Linked DNA regions of Homo sapiens: regions 2, 3 and 4 are each linked to region 1. Evidence: promoter capture Hi-C in 16 types of primary human blood cells and fetal thymus (Javierre and others, 2016). All regions are on one chromosome and are shown on one strand. The core of a region is centred on a gene start or on the middle of the fragment in contact, and the rest is flanking DNA. Distances in the headings are between cores, read along the strand shown. Region 1 has its middle 2.0 kb from the start of TRT-AGT6-1. Region 2 holds the start of H2BC7 (H2B clustered histone 7). Region 3 holds the start of H4C6 (H4 clustered histone 6). Region 4 holds the start of OR2B2 (olfactory receptor family 2 subfamily B member 2).

What was found. Contacts are between HindIII fragments. The CHiCAGO score rates a contact against its expected background, and 5 or more counts as called.
Region 2: a contact is called between the fragment with the promoter of H2BC7 here and a fragment that was not itself captured in region 1, in 3 of 17 cell types (total CD4 T cells, total B cells and naive CD8 T cells). The highest score is 6.6, in total CD4 T cells.
Region 3: a contact is called between the fragment with the promoter of H4C6 here and a fragment that was not itself captured in region 1, in 1 of 17 cell types (total CD4 T cells). The highest score is 5.4, in total CD4 T cells.
Region 4: the fragment with the promoter of OR2B2 here is called in contact with a fragment that was not itself captured in region 1 in 5 of 17 cell types (monocytes, non-activated CD4 T cells, neutrophils and 2 more); the score reaches 8.9 in monocytes.

Annotation. Positions count from the first base shown.
Region 1 is chr6:27,158,497-27,162,117 of GRCh38, reverse strand. No RefSeq gene overlaps it. Among named protein-coding and RNA genes, the nearest start is that of TRT-AGT6-1, 2.0 kb to the left of the region's middle. The HindIII fragment of the contact is 878 bases long and covers 1,173-2,050 here.
Region 2 is chr6:26,197,921-26,201,541 of GRCh38, reverse strand. H2BC7 (H2B clustered histone 7) reads right to left here and starts at 2,026. Exons shown (of 1, transcript NM_003522.4): 1 at 1,554-2,026. The coding sequence starts at 1,983. The coding sequence ends at 1,603. H2AC7 (H2A clustered histone 7) reads left to right here and starts at 2,249. Exons shown (of 1, transcript NM_021065.3): 1 at 2,249-2,758. The coding sequence starts at 2,299. The coding sequence ends at 2,691. It also overlaps a transcript of H3C4 not described here. RefSeq lists enhancers at 1,585-1,674, 1,666-2,285, 2,445-2,624, 1,558-2,757, 2,805-2,874 and 3 more. The HindIII fragment of the contact is 6,177 bases long and covers 1-2,088 here.
Region 3 is chr6:26,238,397-26,242,017 of GRCh38, reverse strand. It overlaps H4C6 (H4 clustered histone 6), which reads right to left and starts at 1,625. Exons shown (of 1, transcript NM_003540.4): 1 at 1,225-1,625. The coding sequence starts at 1,592. The coding sequence ends at 1,281. RefSeq lists enhancers at 1,389-1,438, 1,899-1,998. The HindIII fragment of the contact is 5,393 bases long and covers 1-3,505 here.
Region 4 is chr6:27,910,333-27,913,953 of GRCh38, reverse strand. OR2B2 (olfactory receptor family 2 subfamily B member 2) reads left to right here and starts at 1,558. Exons shown (of 1, transcript NM_033057.2): 1 at 1,558-2,769. The coding sequence starts at 1,635. The coding sequence ends at 2,708. The HindIII fragment of the contact is 2,345 bases long and covers 254-2,598 here.

The DNA.
Region 1 (3,621 bases), core at 362-2,861:
TTTCTTCAATGCAAGATTTCAGAATTTATTTCAAATTGAAATGAGTGAAATTTCTATTTCATGGTGACTATCTCCCCCTACAGGAAATATTGGATATCGCAACATATTTTAAATTTATTTCTCTGTTCGTGCATTCATTCTGTCCACAAATGTTGAGTCATTACTGCATTTCAGGTACTTTTCTAGGTATTGGAGAAAGAACATTGAATAAAACAGCAAAATTTTCTTCCATTATTGAATTTATGTTCTACAGGGAGATAAAACAACAACAAAAAACACCCCAAAACAAACTAACCAACTAAAAAAATCCAACAACAAACAAAAACACAAGTGATATGGAAACCAATCTCTTTACCGCTGGGTTATAGAACCCACGACACTACCTTCTGAGCTAATTCACTGCAATTGAGTAAAACCATTATGCTTCCTTCTATTTTATCTAATCTGGCACAAGAAAGTGAGCCTAGACGAGGACACAGTGATGTCGTGGAGATCTGTGGTCACCCTGCTTCCCACTTACCCAAACTAGGCACCTTGAGACCCTCTGTTTCAAAGACAGCTTTGGTCTCAACAGGAGATCTGCTGTTAGAAACAATGAGTTAGGTGTACACAGGGAGTTCTCCTGGATGGATATCTTTGCTTCTGTCATAGTCTTGTTCTGCTCATTTGCCTGCTGGGTTAAAATAGACTCAATTTCTAGACCCACATAGATTGTAAAACTGCGTGGATGATACAGAGAAGTAGAGAACAAAGTAGAGTACAATGTGATAGCCCTCACAGGATGCTGTGGGAACCTCTCACTTGGGCCTCACAGAGTTGCATGACCTTTTATCTCAGGTTCTTTGTCAGTTTAATGAATGCAGAAGGAGTCATGGAATGTTTAGCTGAATGCAGCTTAGCATGGGGAAAAGCAGATGAAACCAATATCCTGAAATATTTAAATAACTGCCTGGTGCTTTGCATATGCATTCATTAAGCATCCACAAAATGCAAGACCCTGGAAAGATGAGAAATTACTTAGGTTGAGGTTGAGTTTTTATTTTTTAACCAAGCCTGGTGTTGCTTCTGATTTATTTCCTGTGGGTCATGAACCTCTACTCACTACCTAGCTAATCACAAAGCCAGGTTATACCAATTTTTCAGCTTTATTGGCTGAGGTTTTTTGTGAAGCTTAGTTATGTATTCCCCGACTTCTGTTTCTCACTGACAGGTGTTTCATAAATCTTGGTATGTGTAAAACCCTGGAAGAAAAGCCCTTTGTTTCTCCTTTTGGAAATCTTTCCAAGATACAAGCAGACATTTCAACATAAAGTAGGTGCTGGAGTGGTGTGGCTACAGATAGATTGCTGCACCCTTGAGAGAAATTAACACTACGAAACCCCTGCTTAAAGTGTTTCATCCGGATTTCTGCTGACATTAGAAGGAAAGTTCTTTTCCTGATTCCCTGACTTTTGGGGCTATTCTTTCTAGAACCTACCTTTTCCCACAACATCTGTGTCTTCCCTAAACTTATGGCCTATCATAGCAAACATTTTGGCCAACATCCGCCTTATAAAAAGCCTTGCTCAGATCTTCAAATAAGCCTCAATACTGAGGACAGACAAAACCCTTCTTATTATTGTTAGAACTACCTTATCAGCATCAAAGAAGCACAGGATTGTAGTCAAGTTAAATAGATGCTGAGTCTGGTACCAGTCTTTGCAATATTACTACTGCATGAAGGCCTTCCACCACTTAAGTAGCAATGATATTTATTTATTTAGCTCCAAAAATGGCTTATTTTATTATTTTGTTTGTTTGTTTGTACCTTACTGAGCTAGTGCCATCATGCATTTACCACCCTTAAATCTTTAGAACAATCTTAGAAGGTGGTAACTTTCATTAATTTCCATGGAGAGATGAGAATGATAAAACATAGAAATATTAAAAAGTCATTTCAAGACCATGAATGCCATAGGTAGAGTAAAACAGTTTTCTTTCTGAAAATGTGGTTGGCAGACTGTGTAAGATACTTCCATACCAATATTAGTGCATTCATAAAATGCAAGCTTTTAATCTCACAATTCCCCTGTTTATACCAGATTTCTAGCAATGCTCACTCAAAGCTGCAAAACATTATTGTGAACCAGAGAACTTCACACCTCTAAGATAAACATGTGCTTTGCACTGAGTATCATATGGTACACGCCAAGCAAGCTCTCTACTTTTCGAGCAAATCATACAGCATGGGTTTTATTGAGCCCTATTACTCACTTGTCACTACAATTTTATTCTGTAATAGATCTAGGACCCTAGCTCTCTCACTAAGAGATAGCCTCTGAGTCAGAGTCCATAGATTTCTGCTACTCAGGCCAGTAAGATCTGAGAAAATGTGTTCTGGAGAATTGCAAGATCAAAATGTTTATTGCTTTAGCAGTTTTATCATTCACTTGTGGCAAAATAATTGACAAGAACTGATCCTTTAGGGTCAATACATACTTGATCCCTGTCTTCACTCTTGTAAGACTGAGTCAAGATAAAATAGACTAAAAAGAAAATTGAAGTAGAATGTGATACAAGTGAACATGAATAACCACTACAAATGCTATTAAATTACTGAGAAGAGGCCTAGAACCTGACCTGTTGGAGAGATGATATCCTACAGTATAAGGCAGCTCAGCTCAATTACAATATCTCTGAGTTTCAGAATCCATGTCAGCTGGATGGACAGTTGGAGAAGAAATGGGGGCTATTTTAGCCCCAAGAAGGAAAGAACAAATCTCTTTTGCTGAAATTTTTGATAAGTTGCTAAAAGTATGAGTATTCTTTTTTTTTGAGACCGAGTCTTACTCTGTCACTCAGGCTGGAGTGCAGTGGTGTGATCTTGGCTTACTGCAACTTCCACTGCCTGGGTTCAGGCAATTCTCGTGCCTTAGCCTTCCGAATAGCTGGGACTACAGGCCTATGCCACTATGCCAAGCTAATTTTTGTATTTTTAGTAGAGACGGGGTTTCACCATGTTGGCCATGCTGGTCTCGAACTCCCGACCTCAGGTGATCTGCCCGCCTCGGCCTCCCAAAGTGCTGGGATTATAGGCATGAGCCACCACACCTGTTTGAATACTAACCTTCCACCAGGGCCAGGAGGGACGAAGTGCCATTAATGTGTTCTCAGAGTGCTGTGCTACTAACTAGAACTGGGCTCATGGAAGCGCCTCTGGGGATCTGCCTGTCTCCAGCCACCTCCTACTGGTCCTAGGTAGCACCAACTACTTCTTTCCAGCCACCTCCGTATCTCAGATCAGCTCTCCTCCACTCCCGCCTCACCCAGTCTACTTGGCTCTTTAGAACTCATTCTAGAAACTGAACGGGCTAGAAATGGGGGCTGTTCTTCTGGGCCATTATTCCCCCCCACCCAAATTCCTTCAATTACTCAAATTTCTTTAATTTTCTCCAGATGATCAAAGGTTACAGTTTTTCAGCATTGGTCCAGCTAGGATACTTAGAAACGCGTGATTAATAATTTGTCTTTTGTGTTTTAAGAAAGATCTCCACAACAAACCTGGATCCCCTTTTGAACAGTCCTTTCCTCATGCCTACCAGTGTTTGAAAGTAAAAGTTTTCCATTAAAAAAAAATTACCT
Region 2 (3,621 bases), core at 777-3,276, 960 kb after region 1:
TGGGAAGGGGAAACACATATGGCCACATTTCTGCATATAATTTCAGAAACTTGTTGTATTCCCCTCAAGCTGATGTAGACCTTAGTTTAGATATTTACTTCTGGAACTACAGAAAGCAAAAATCGACTGCTATGCCAATGTAAATTGGCACATGAAGCCATTTAGTATTTTTAGTTTTCATTTTCCTAGGTTTTTCTTGTTGCTTTCATTTTTTCAGTTGGGTTTTGTTTATTTGAATGTTTATATATGCTTTGCATGTGCTGTGTTCTGTGTCCATTTATGTGCCGGACAGGGAGTGGGAAGTTGAAAAATAATTATGGGACGGGTGTGGTGGCTCACGCCTGTAATCCCAGCATTTTGGGAGTCTGAGGATGGTGGATCACCTGAGGTCAGGAGTTCGAAACCAGCCTGACCAACATGGTGAAACTCCGTCTCTACTAAAAATACAAAAAATAGCCGGGCATGGTGGTGCGCGCCTGTAGTTCCAGCTACTCGGGAGGCTGAGACGGGAGAATCGCTTGAACCCGGGAGCCAGAGGTTGCTGTGAGCCGAGATTGCGCCATTGCACTCTACTCTGAGCAACAATAGCGAAACTCCTCCTCAAAAAAAAAAAAAAAGTAATAATATAGAATACTATTCCTTTTTTCTTAACTGGGTTGAAATTCTAAGAATCTTTTATATATAATATTTTAAATATTTTTAAGATACAAAAACATTTTGTAAAAATTTTAAGTATTCTACACTGGATGCCATTCATAACAGTTTATGATCTTAAGTAAGGCTTGTAATTACCAAGAATACAGTAAAACTTCAGTATCTTTATATATGAGTATATAGAATAGAAAAATTGTATTTGTAAGTAGAATGACATAAATTATTTTTTCACTTAAAAATTACAACTTTTGCTTATTAGAATAAAATGAACACATATGAAGTCAACCCTGAAGGAAAAAAAGTCAAAAACAACTTTGAGGAAGTGACAAGAAAATATTTTAGGATTAGGGGTGTGTCTCATTACTCCCAAATGGTATTTTGCCAGTGGCCAAATTTTCTTTAACTAAACCAAGAACAATGTTGATTATTAGTGCTGCATCCAGGCTCGGGTGTTCACATTTTTTCAGTTTTCATGCACATTACTTGTCTTGCTTTCCTTATATTTTAAAGAATTTGATTACATTATTTTAACCAGCTAAATTCGCCAATGCTGCGATGACTAAACCGGAATTAAGGAAGACATTCCTTTCCCTCACACTATGTCAGTAGCAAAAGAGATATTTCAAAAGTTCTTTTCTTATGAAACCAATTTGACAAGGGACACATCACAGCACAACATAAGAAAAATGTGCTTATCAGCACAATGGGCTAGCCTTCTAACCAGCACTTGGGGTAAAACAAACATGCTACGGTTAAGTATAGCATTTTCCTTCAACCAGTCAAAAGAACTGTGGTCTAGACCTACACAGCAGCAACCCCCTCAAATGAGGATAAAACCAAACCTGTTGGTGGTAAACACGGAAAATATGCAGGTAATTACAACTCTATAGCTGAAAAAGTGGGTGGCTCTTAAAAGAGCCTTTGGGATTGGGTATGAAGACGTTAGAATTACTTAGAGCTGGTGTACTTGGTGACGGCCTTGGTGCCCTCTGACACGGCGTGCTTAGCCAGCTCCCCGGGCAGCAGCAGGCGTACGGCCGTCTGGATCTCCCTGGAGGTGATGGTGGAGCGCTTGTTGTAATGCGCCAGGCGGGAAGCCTCGCCAGCGATGCGCTCGAAGATATCGTTGACGAAGGAGTTCATGATGCCCATGGCCTTGGATGAGATGCCGGTGTCGGGGTGGACCTGCTTTAGCACCTTGTACACGTACACGGAATAGCTCTCCTTGCGGCTACGCTTGCGCTTCTTACCATCCTTCTTCTGCGCCTTGGTCACCGCCTTTTTGGAGCCCTTTTTTGGAGCAGGAGCGGACTTAGCAGGTTCAGGCATGATAAATAAACACTTCGTCCACAACCTAAAGAGAAATGCAAGTGTCCTCACTCTGCAGCTGGTAATATTTGTAGAGCTCCTATCGTAAACTGGCATTTAAAAGCTTACACATTGATTGGATGAATTGTCTCTGTGTGCCCTGTGGTATGCAAATTAGGTGATTCTAGCGTTTCTTTGCAATTGGTTGGTTGTTCTAGCCAATCAAATAGCGTTATTTACAATTCGACCTCCAAGTATAATAGTTTCTCACTTGCTAACAAAATTCACTTTTACATTTTTGTCTTCATTGCTTAACATCGTTTTTAAGAATTCAAAATGTCCGGACGCGGCAAGCAAGGCGGAAAGGCCCGAGCTAAGGCTAAGACCCGCTCTTCGCGGGCCGGACTCCAGTTCCCTGTGGGCCGCGTACACCGCTTGCTCCGCAAGGGCAACTACTCCGAGCGAGTCGGGGCCGGCGCGCCAGTGTATCTGGCGGCGGTGTTGGAGTACCTGACCGCCGAGATCCTGGAGCTGGCGGGCAACGCCGCCCGCGACAACAAGAAGACCCGCATCATCCCCCGACACCTGCAGCTGGCCATCCGCAACGACGAGGAGCTAAACAAGTTGCTGGGTAAAGTCACAATTGCTCAGGGCGGTGTTCTGCCCAACATCCAGGCTGTACTGCTCCCCAAGAAGACTGAGAGTCACCACAAGGCCAAGGGCAAGTAAAACGAGAACTCTTATATTGGCTTTTTAAGGAAGCAGTCTTAACAAAGGCTCTTTTCAGAGCCACCCATGTATTCCTTAAAAGGGCTCACATTTTCTGTGTAAATAGCTATTTTGCAGTTTTCTTTAATAATTTTTCCATTTATAAGTGGGTGTTCTTAACACTGAATCGTGAAACTAACCGTCCATTTTAAAGATGCCATAAAAATACATAAGCAAATTGGCGGGGCGCGGTTCCTTACGCCTGTAATCCCAGGACTTTGGAAGGCCAAGGTGGGCGGATCACAGGGTCAGGAGTTCCAGGACAGCCTGACCAACATGGTGTGAAGCCCCGTCTTTACTAAAAATAAAAAAATTTGTCGGGCGTGGTGGCGCGCGCCTGTAATTTCAGCTATTTAAGAGGTTGAGGCAGGAGAAAATGTTGAACCCCGGAGGCGGAGGTTGCAGTGAGTCGAGATCGCGCCACTGCACTCCAGTTTCGGCGACAGAGCGAGACTGTCTCAAAACAAACAAAAACCCAAAAAAGCAAACTAATTAAAATGCAAAGAGACTTTATGTCACATGTAATTTAAATCGATCAATGCAGCGGCTCGTTAGGATTGCAAAGCTGTTAAAAGGCCTGAGACATACAGGAGAGAAGTTAATGTTTGTCAGTGTTTACATTTACATAAAAATATAGTTAGTGACTTAAAGCAACAGAACCAGAACAAATGTTTTATTGTCTTTTGTATGCATCTTAATGATACGAAATAACCTGTAATTTGTAAGTATTTTTTGGGTTTGTTTTTGCAAGCCACTTTCAACTCTACTGAGCTAACCCTAATTAATTATCAATAGGAATACAAACCTACATCCCCTGGAGCCAGACGGCCCTTAGGTGGAGCTTCTTAGCACAGTGTTCAGCATGACTAAAAGGGCACACTGGTCTTTTTG
Region 3 (3,621 bases), core at 376-2,875, 920 kb after region 1:
AGTGATTCTCCTGCCTCAGCCTCCCGAGTAGCTGGGACTACAGGCGCGTGTCACCACGTCTACGTCTAATTTTTGTATTTTTAGTAGAGACGAGGTTTTGCAGTGCTAGCCAGGCTGGTCTCGAACTCGTTGAGCTCAAGTGATCCACCCACCTCGGCCTCCCAAGCTGCTGGAATTACAGATGGGATTGCAGACATGAGCCACCGAGCCCGGCCAAACTTTACTTTTTTTTTTTTTTTTTTGAGGCATGGTCTCTGTCGCCCAGGCAGGAGTGGAGTGGCACCATCTCAGCTCACTGAAATCTCCGCCTCCCGTGCTCAAGCGATTCTCCTGCCTCAGCCCTTGCAGATTAGCTGCGACAGCAGGCGTCCGCCACAACGCCGGGCTAACTTTCCTATTTAACTTTTTTAGTTGAGACGGAGTTTCACCATTTTGGTTGCCCAGGCTAGTCTCGAACTCCTGAGCTCTAGTAATCCGCCCGCCGTGGTCTCCCAAGGTGCTGTGATTCAGGCCTGAGGCACCGCGCCCGGACACAAGTAGTGGATTAAGTTTACCAGTAATTGATCTGTCCACAGCCGCCCTAAGATTACTCACGTTCTATGCCTAATAAATAACACTAAGGCCGGGCACGGTGGCTCACGCCTGCAATCCCTGCACTTTGGGAGGCCAAGAAGGGCGGATCACCTGAGGTCGGGAGTTCGAGACCAGCCAGACCAACACAGAAAAGCCCCTTCTGTACTAAAAATAAAAAATTAGCCAAGCGTGGTGGCGCATGCCTGTAACCCCAGTTACTCGGGAGGTTGAGTCAGGAGAACCGCTTAAACCCGGGAGGGGGTGGTTGCGGTGAGCCGAGATTGCGTCATTGCACTACAGCCTGGACAAGAGCAACTCCATCTCAAAAACTAAACATGTAATGCTAGTGTAGTTAAGTCCCAGCCACCTAACATAGGAGTAAATTTCAGAAACGTGGGAATAAAACACATCACATACGTCATAAAAGGCTGCTGGTATTCCCAAACCATTTCCACCATCTTTTCCTGTGAATGTTTGCGATCGAAATACCTGAACAAGTTTCTAATGTTTCGCCTTCCCTTTCTCCTTAGCACATCCGCCATCTTAGGAAGATCGCTAAAAACGGCTCGGTTTAACTCAGTTAGAATCCCAAATTTACAAAACGAAACCCAAGTCGTCATCAGTTACAGCCCTTCGTGTGACGAAGGAGGTGGCCCTGAAAAGGGCCTTTTATGGGTGAGCTGTTAAATAAAAAGCCGGGGTGAGGCTCAGCCACCAAAGCCGTACAGAGTGCGTCCCTGGCGCTTGAGCGCGTAGACAACATCCATTGCAGTGACTGTCTTACGCTTGGCGTGCTCCGTGTAGGTTACGGCGTCCCGTATCACATTCTCCAGGAACACCTTAAGAACACCGCGGGTCTCCTCATAAATGAGGCCCGAAATGCGTTTCACGCCGCCGCGTCGGGCCAAGCGACGGATGGCGGGCTTCGTGATGCCCTGTATGTTGTCACGCAGCACTTTGCGATGGCGCTTGGCGCCTCCCTTTCCTAAACCTTTACCACCTTTGCCTCTACCAGACATGATCGAAGACAAACAACAACTCTTAACTTTTGCAACTTTGCTACACACTGAAGCCCCTTATATATCAATTATGCGGACCTTTTTGGAGACTGAATTGGAGGGGCGGGAACGAAACCTCTGTCTCCGCCTTTTCCGTAACTTACTGGGCGTCCCCTACACTATTGCCTTGGGAAGGAAAGGGGGCGGTGAGGGTAGGGGAAATGCAAGTTGATTTGACTCCTTCCTGTTTCCTTGTTTGGGTCTTGAGTGTAGGTTTCTGTGTCTTCTAGTCCAGTGCCTGTGGGCTCTCGAACTGATAATGTCTGTCTCCTAAAATCCTTATTATTTGCAAAAAGGAGGCAGTAACGCTACACTTGTCTACCGAATGGATAGACAAGAGAATAAAATTATTATTTCTTTTGAAACAGTTTTGCTCTGCCCCAGACTGGAGTGCAGTGGCGTGATCTCGGCTCACTGCAACCTCCGCCTCTCGGGTTCGAGCGATTCTTCTGCCTCAGCCCCTGCAGTAGCTGCAACTACAGGCGCGCGTCACCACGCCCGGCTAATTTTTGTATTTTTAGTAGAGATGGGGTTTCGCCATGTTGACTAGGCTGGTCTCGAACTCCTGACCTCAGGTGATCCACCCGCCTCGGCCTCCCAAAGTTCTGGGATTACAGGCGCCTAGCTTTAATTTTTAAATGTGAAGATTCTTTGAAAATGTATTTTTACTAATTTTTTTTTTTTGATACGGGGTCTCACTCTGTTGCCCAGGCTGGAGTGCAGTGGCGCTATCTCGGCTCACTGCAACCTCCGCCTTCTGGGTTCAAGCGATTCTCATGCCTCAGCCTCACGAGTAGCTGTGATTTCAGGCACGCGTCGCCACACCTGGGTAATTTTTGTATTTTCTTAGTAAAGACGGGGTTTCGCCATGTTGGCCAGGGTGGTCTCGAACTCCTGACTTCAGGTGATCCACCCACCTTGGCCTCACAAAGTGCTGGGATTACTGGCGTGAGCCACCACGCCCGGCCATTTTTATTAATTCTTAAAATGTAGCAATACTTCTTAAATTTGGCCAATCATGAGACTTAGCGTTTGGCAGAGACATATACATTCACATCGTTTTTGGCATTCCTAATAAAGAAAGACCTCTAGTAAGGGAAACCAATATTAATTGAAGTTTCATTCTTAGTTTTTCAATGTATAATGCAATATCTGAGGTGTAAAGATAAGGAATCCCAGGCTTGAAGACATTATCCTCTAATAAATGGCATTGTATTGTTGGCTCGATTCTGGAGTCTCACTACCTTGCTACCTACCACTGCTTTCATGCCACTAAAGCATACATGGTAAATCATGGTGAATAAAGGTTTGTAAATTAACAAAAATAATACTAATAAATTCTGTGAAATACTGTCCTAATAAAAGATTCCGGAAGAAGTGTTCTACACACAGATCATAGGGTATGTGTAGTAGAAAAATTCAACATTAACTCTTACAGTCTACTGCTTCACATTCATTGCCTCCTATATACTGCAAGGGTAACTTAAAAATCCCGTCTCTGCTGGTGCCTAAAAGCAGTGAGAAGATTATTCATTTTGTGGAGTTAAGAGTCTACTTAAATTTTGGCTTAGGTTCAGTTACCTGTAGGAATAGACACAAGGATCTCAAGTGCTCTCCTTTTTGAGGTAGGCACCAAACAAGCATCATTCATTCATTCAACAATTTAATGTCCACTACATGCCAAGAATAGTGTACAAATACCAGGTTTACAAAGATAATCACATTTATTCTCTTAAAGAACTCAAAAGTTTAGTAAAGGGAAAAGTACACTCAGGGTTAGGGGGCAGATATCAGACCAGCATACTTCTACTTACTGTCAGGTATTTAAGGGCGGAGCAGCCATATCCCAGCTATACTGGCATCACTCTGAAGCTTGTTAGACATACAGAATTTCGGGCCCAACCCCAAATCAATGGAATTGATATTACATTTTTAATGAGATCTCTAAGTGGGTGGTAGGTATGCTCTTCCAAGTTTGAGAATAATTGTT
Region 4 (3,621 bases), core at 309-2,808, 750 kb before region 1:
CTGTTTAGAGCAGGGGTGTCCAATCTTTTGGCTTCCCTGGGCCACATTGGAAGAAGAAGAATTGTCTTGGGTCTCACATAAAATACAGCAACACTAACAATAGCTGATGAGTTTTTTTTTAATCATCAGTGAATGTCATGATGTTTTAAGAAAGTTTACAAATTTGTGTTAGGCCACGTTCAAAGCCATCCTGGGCTGCGTTCAAAGCCATCCTGGGCTGCATGCAGCCCGTGGGCCTCAGGTTGGACAAGCTTGATTTAAAGCATCCACCTGCCTGTTAGTCACTGAGTAGCCATCTCGGTTATCAGATCGTCAGAACACAGAGGGGTGAGTACACTAGAATAAGGTGTTTTGAAGAGAAAAAAAGAGAGGGACACCACATTCACATAACATGTATTACAATAAATGGGGGTCTGGAGCTGTTATACTTGCTGCATTTTATTAATTATTGTTCTTAATCTCTTACTGTGCCTAATTTATAAATTAAACGTTATAGTTGTGTATGTATTAAAAAACATAGTATATATAGGGTTTGGTACTACCCACAGTTTCAGGTTTCTATCCACTGGTGGTCTTGGAATGTATCCCCCATGGATAAAGGGGGAACCACTGTATCATCTTCATTTTACAAATGAGAATTGTGGAGATCAAAGGGTTAGAAGCATTCCAATATAATGAATGTAACTAATTAGAGAGGGTAGGGATATGAGACCAGCCTGTCACCTTCAAATATCATATTACTAAGGAATCTATACAAATTCTATGAGCTTCTAGAACGAAAAGGATATGTCTCCTTAAATTGTGTCTGATAACTTACTAGATACTGTCTACATGGCTTTTTTGAGGGAAGGGGAATAATGGGAGGTGGCTTTAACTAATGTTAACTGATTTCTACAATCAGGGAATCTCGCTGGCCTTGAAGAGAAATTAGAATGAATTCAAATGACAGGAAACTGTATCTACATCTACCTCACAGTAGATATCTAGGTAGGAAGAATGAGAAAAATACATTTACAAACAGTAAAATATCAAAGGATACATTATGTGAATTTGGAAACTGAAAATATGGCTTAAGATTTTTGAAATTAGGCTGGGCACAGTGGCTCACGCCTGTAATCCCAGCACTTTGGGAGGCTGAGGTGGGCAGATCACCTGAGGTTGGGGTTTGAGACCAACCTGACCAACGTGGAGAAACCCCATCGCTACTAAAAATACAAAATTAGTCGGGGTGGTGGCACATGCCTGTGATCCCACCTACTGGGGAGGCTGAGGCAGGAGAATTGCTTGAACCTGGGAGGCGGAGGTTGCGGTGAGCCGAGATGGCGCCATTGCACTCCAGCCTGGGCAAAAGAGTGAAACTCTGCCTCAAAAAAAAAAAAAAAAAAAAAAAAAAAGATTCTTGAAATTCGATTCAATTTGCTAATATGCTGTTACAGATATATAAACACTTTTTAAATACTTGGATGGATAAATATTTATATTTTTATCAATACTTTTTTCACATTATTAATTGGATCAGTCTGTAATTTTATGTAAATTGATAGCAAAATGATTATAGCTGACAAAATCAGGAAGTGTGTTGTTAACTTCCTGACTTCTTATATTTCAGAGAACGAAGAGTTGAACCATTTAACATGAATTGGGTAAATAAGAGTGTCCCACAGGAGTTCATTCTGTTAGTTTTCTCAGATCAACCATGGCTAGAGATTCCACCCTTTGTGATGTTTCTGTTTTCCTATATCTTGACAATCTTTGGCAATCTGACAATAATTCTTGTGTCACATGTGGATTTCAAACTCCACACCCCTATGTACTTTTTTCTTAGCAATCTCTCACTCCTGGACCTTTGCTATACCACAAGTACAGTTCCACAAATGCTGGTAAACATATGCAACACCAGGAAAGTAATCAGTTATGGTGGCTGTGTGGCCCAGCTTTTCATTTTCCTGGCCTTGGGTTCCACAGAATGTCTTCTCCTGGCCGTCATGTGCTTTGATAGGTTTGTAGCTATTTGTCGGCCTCTCCATTACTCAATTATCATGCACCAGAGGCTCTGCTTCCAGTTGGCAGCTGCATCCTGGATTAGTGGCTTTAGCAATTCAGTATTACAGTCCACCTGGACACTTAAGATGCCACTGTGTGGTCACAAAGAAGTGGATCACTTCTTCTGTGAAGTCCCTGCTCTGCTCAAGTTGTCCTGTGTTGACACAACAGCAAATGAGGCTGAACTATTCTTCATCAGTGTGCTATTCCTTCTAATACCCGTGACACTCATCCTTATATCGTATGCTTTTATTGTCCAAGCAGTGTTGAGAATCCAGTCTGCTGAAGGTCAACGAAAGGCATTTGGGACATGTGGCTCCCATCTAATTGTGGTGTCACTTTTTTATGGTACAGCTATCTCCATGTACCTGCAACCACCTTCACCCAGCTCCAAAGACCGGGGAAAGATGGTTTCTCTCTTCTGTGGAATCATTGCACCCATGCTGAATCCCCTTATATATACACTTAGGAACAAAGAGGTAAAGGAAGCCTTTAAAAGGTTGGTTGCAAAGAGTCTTCTTAATCAAGAAATAAGAAATATGCAAATGATAAGCTTTGCTAAAGACACAGTGCTTACTTACCTTACTAACTTCTCCGCAAGTTGTCCTATTTTTGTCATTACTATAGAAAACTATTGTAATCTCCCTCAAAGAAAATTTCCTTGACAAAAAGCTATATTTGTTTCTGTTGCCTAAACATTTTCATTGAACAAGCCCCCAGAATTGGCCTTCCAATGCACCAAAAACTGTAATCACAACATTTTCAAGGGTTGTCACACTTTACATCAATGTTTGTACAATTCAGTGTAAACTAGACCTTTCTGATCCAGAAATCATCTCTTCAGTAATACACACACGCACACACACATACATACATACACACACACACATAGAAACAAAGATGTAAAGGGAGCTTTTGAGAGGTTGCTTGCAAGGGTGTTAATAAAAAAAAAAGGAATTCTCAAATTATAGGCCTTTTAAAGACTTCAATTTTACATAGCTTATAATTTAATTCTCTCCAAATTGCTTTATTATTACTATTCTTAGAAAAACTATTATAGTGATCTTCAAATAAAATGTCGACAGAGAACTATATCTGTTTTCTACTGCCTAAATATATTCATTGCACAAGTCTTAAGAACTGATCTTTTATGAACTCTCAAAATAGCATAGCCTTGAAATCTTTAAGGTCTCAAACATCTTAGCACTAGTCTGTATACATCGGGAAGAGACTTAGACTTCTCTGAAACCAGAATAAAAGCCAGAAACAAAACATTTTGATACATATACACATGTCCTCATCCTTACACACACACACACACACACACACACACACACAAACTCCATGGCACAAATTATTTTTCAGACAATTGTAGATCTAACAGAAGTATCCAAAACCTTGTCTTAATTTTCTCTATAAGTTTAACAGCCCTAGCTTAAATTTTAACACTATTCGCACATCAACACAATACTAAAATCCACAACAATTCTGCACTCCCCAGTTTTACTTAGATCTTCTGTTGTTTCTGTACTTCCCACTTCTAAGTTGAAGTGTCCTATTCCATCTATCAAATAAAGT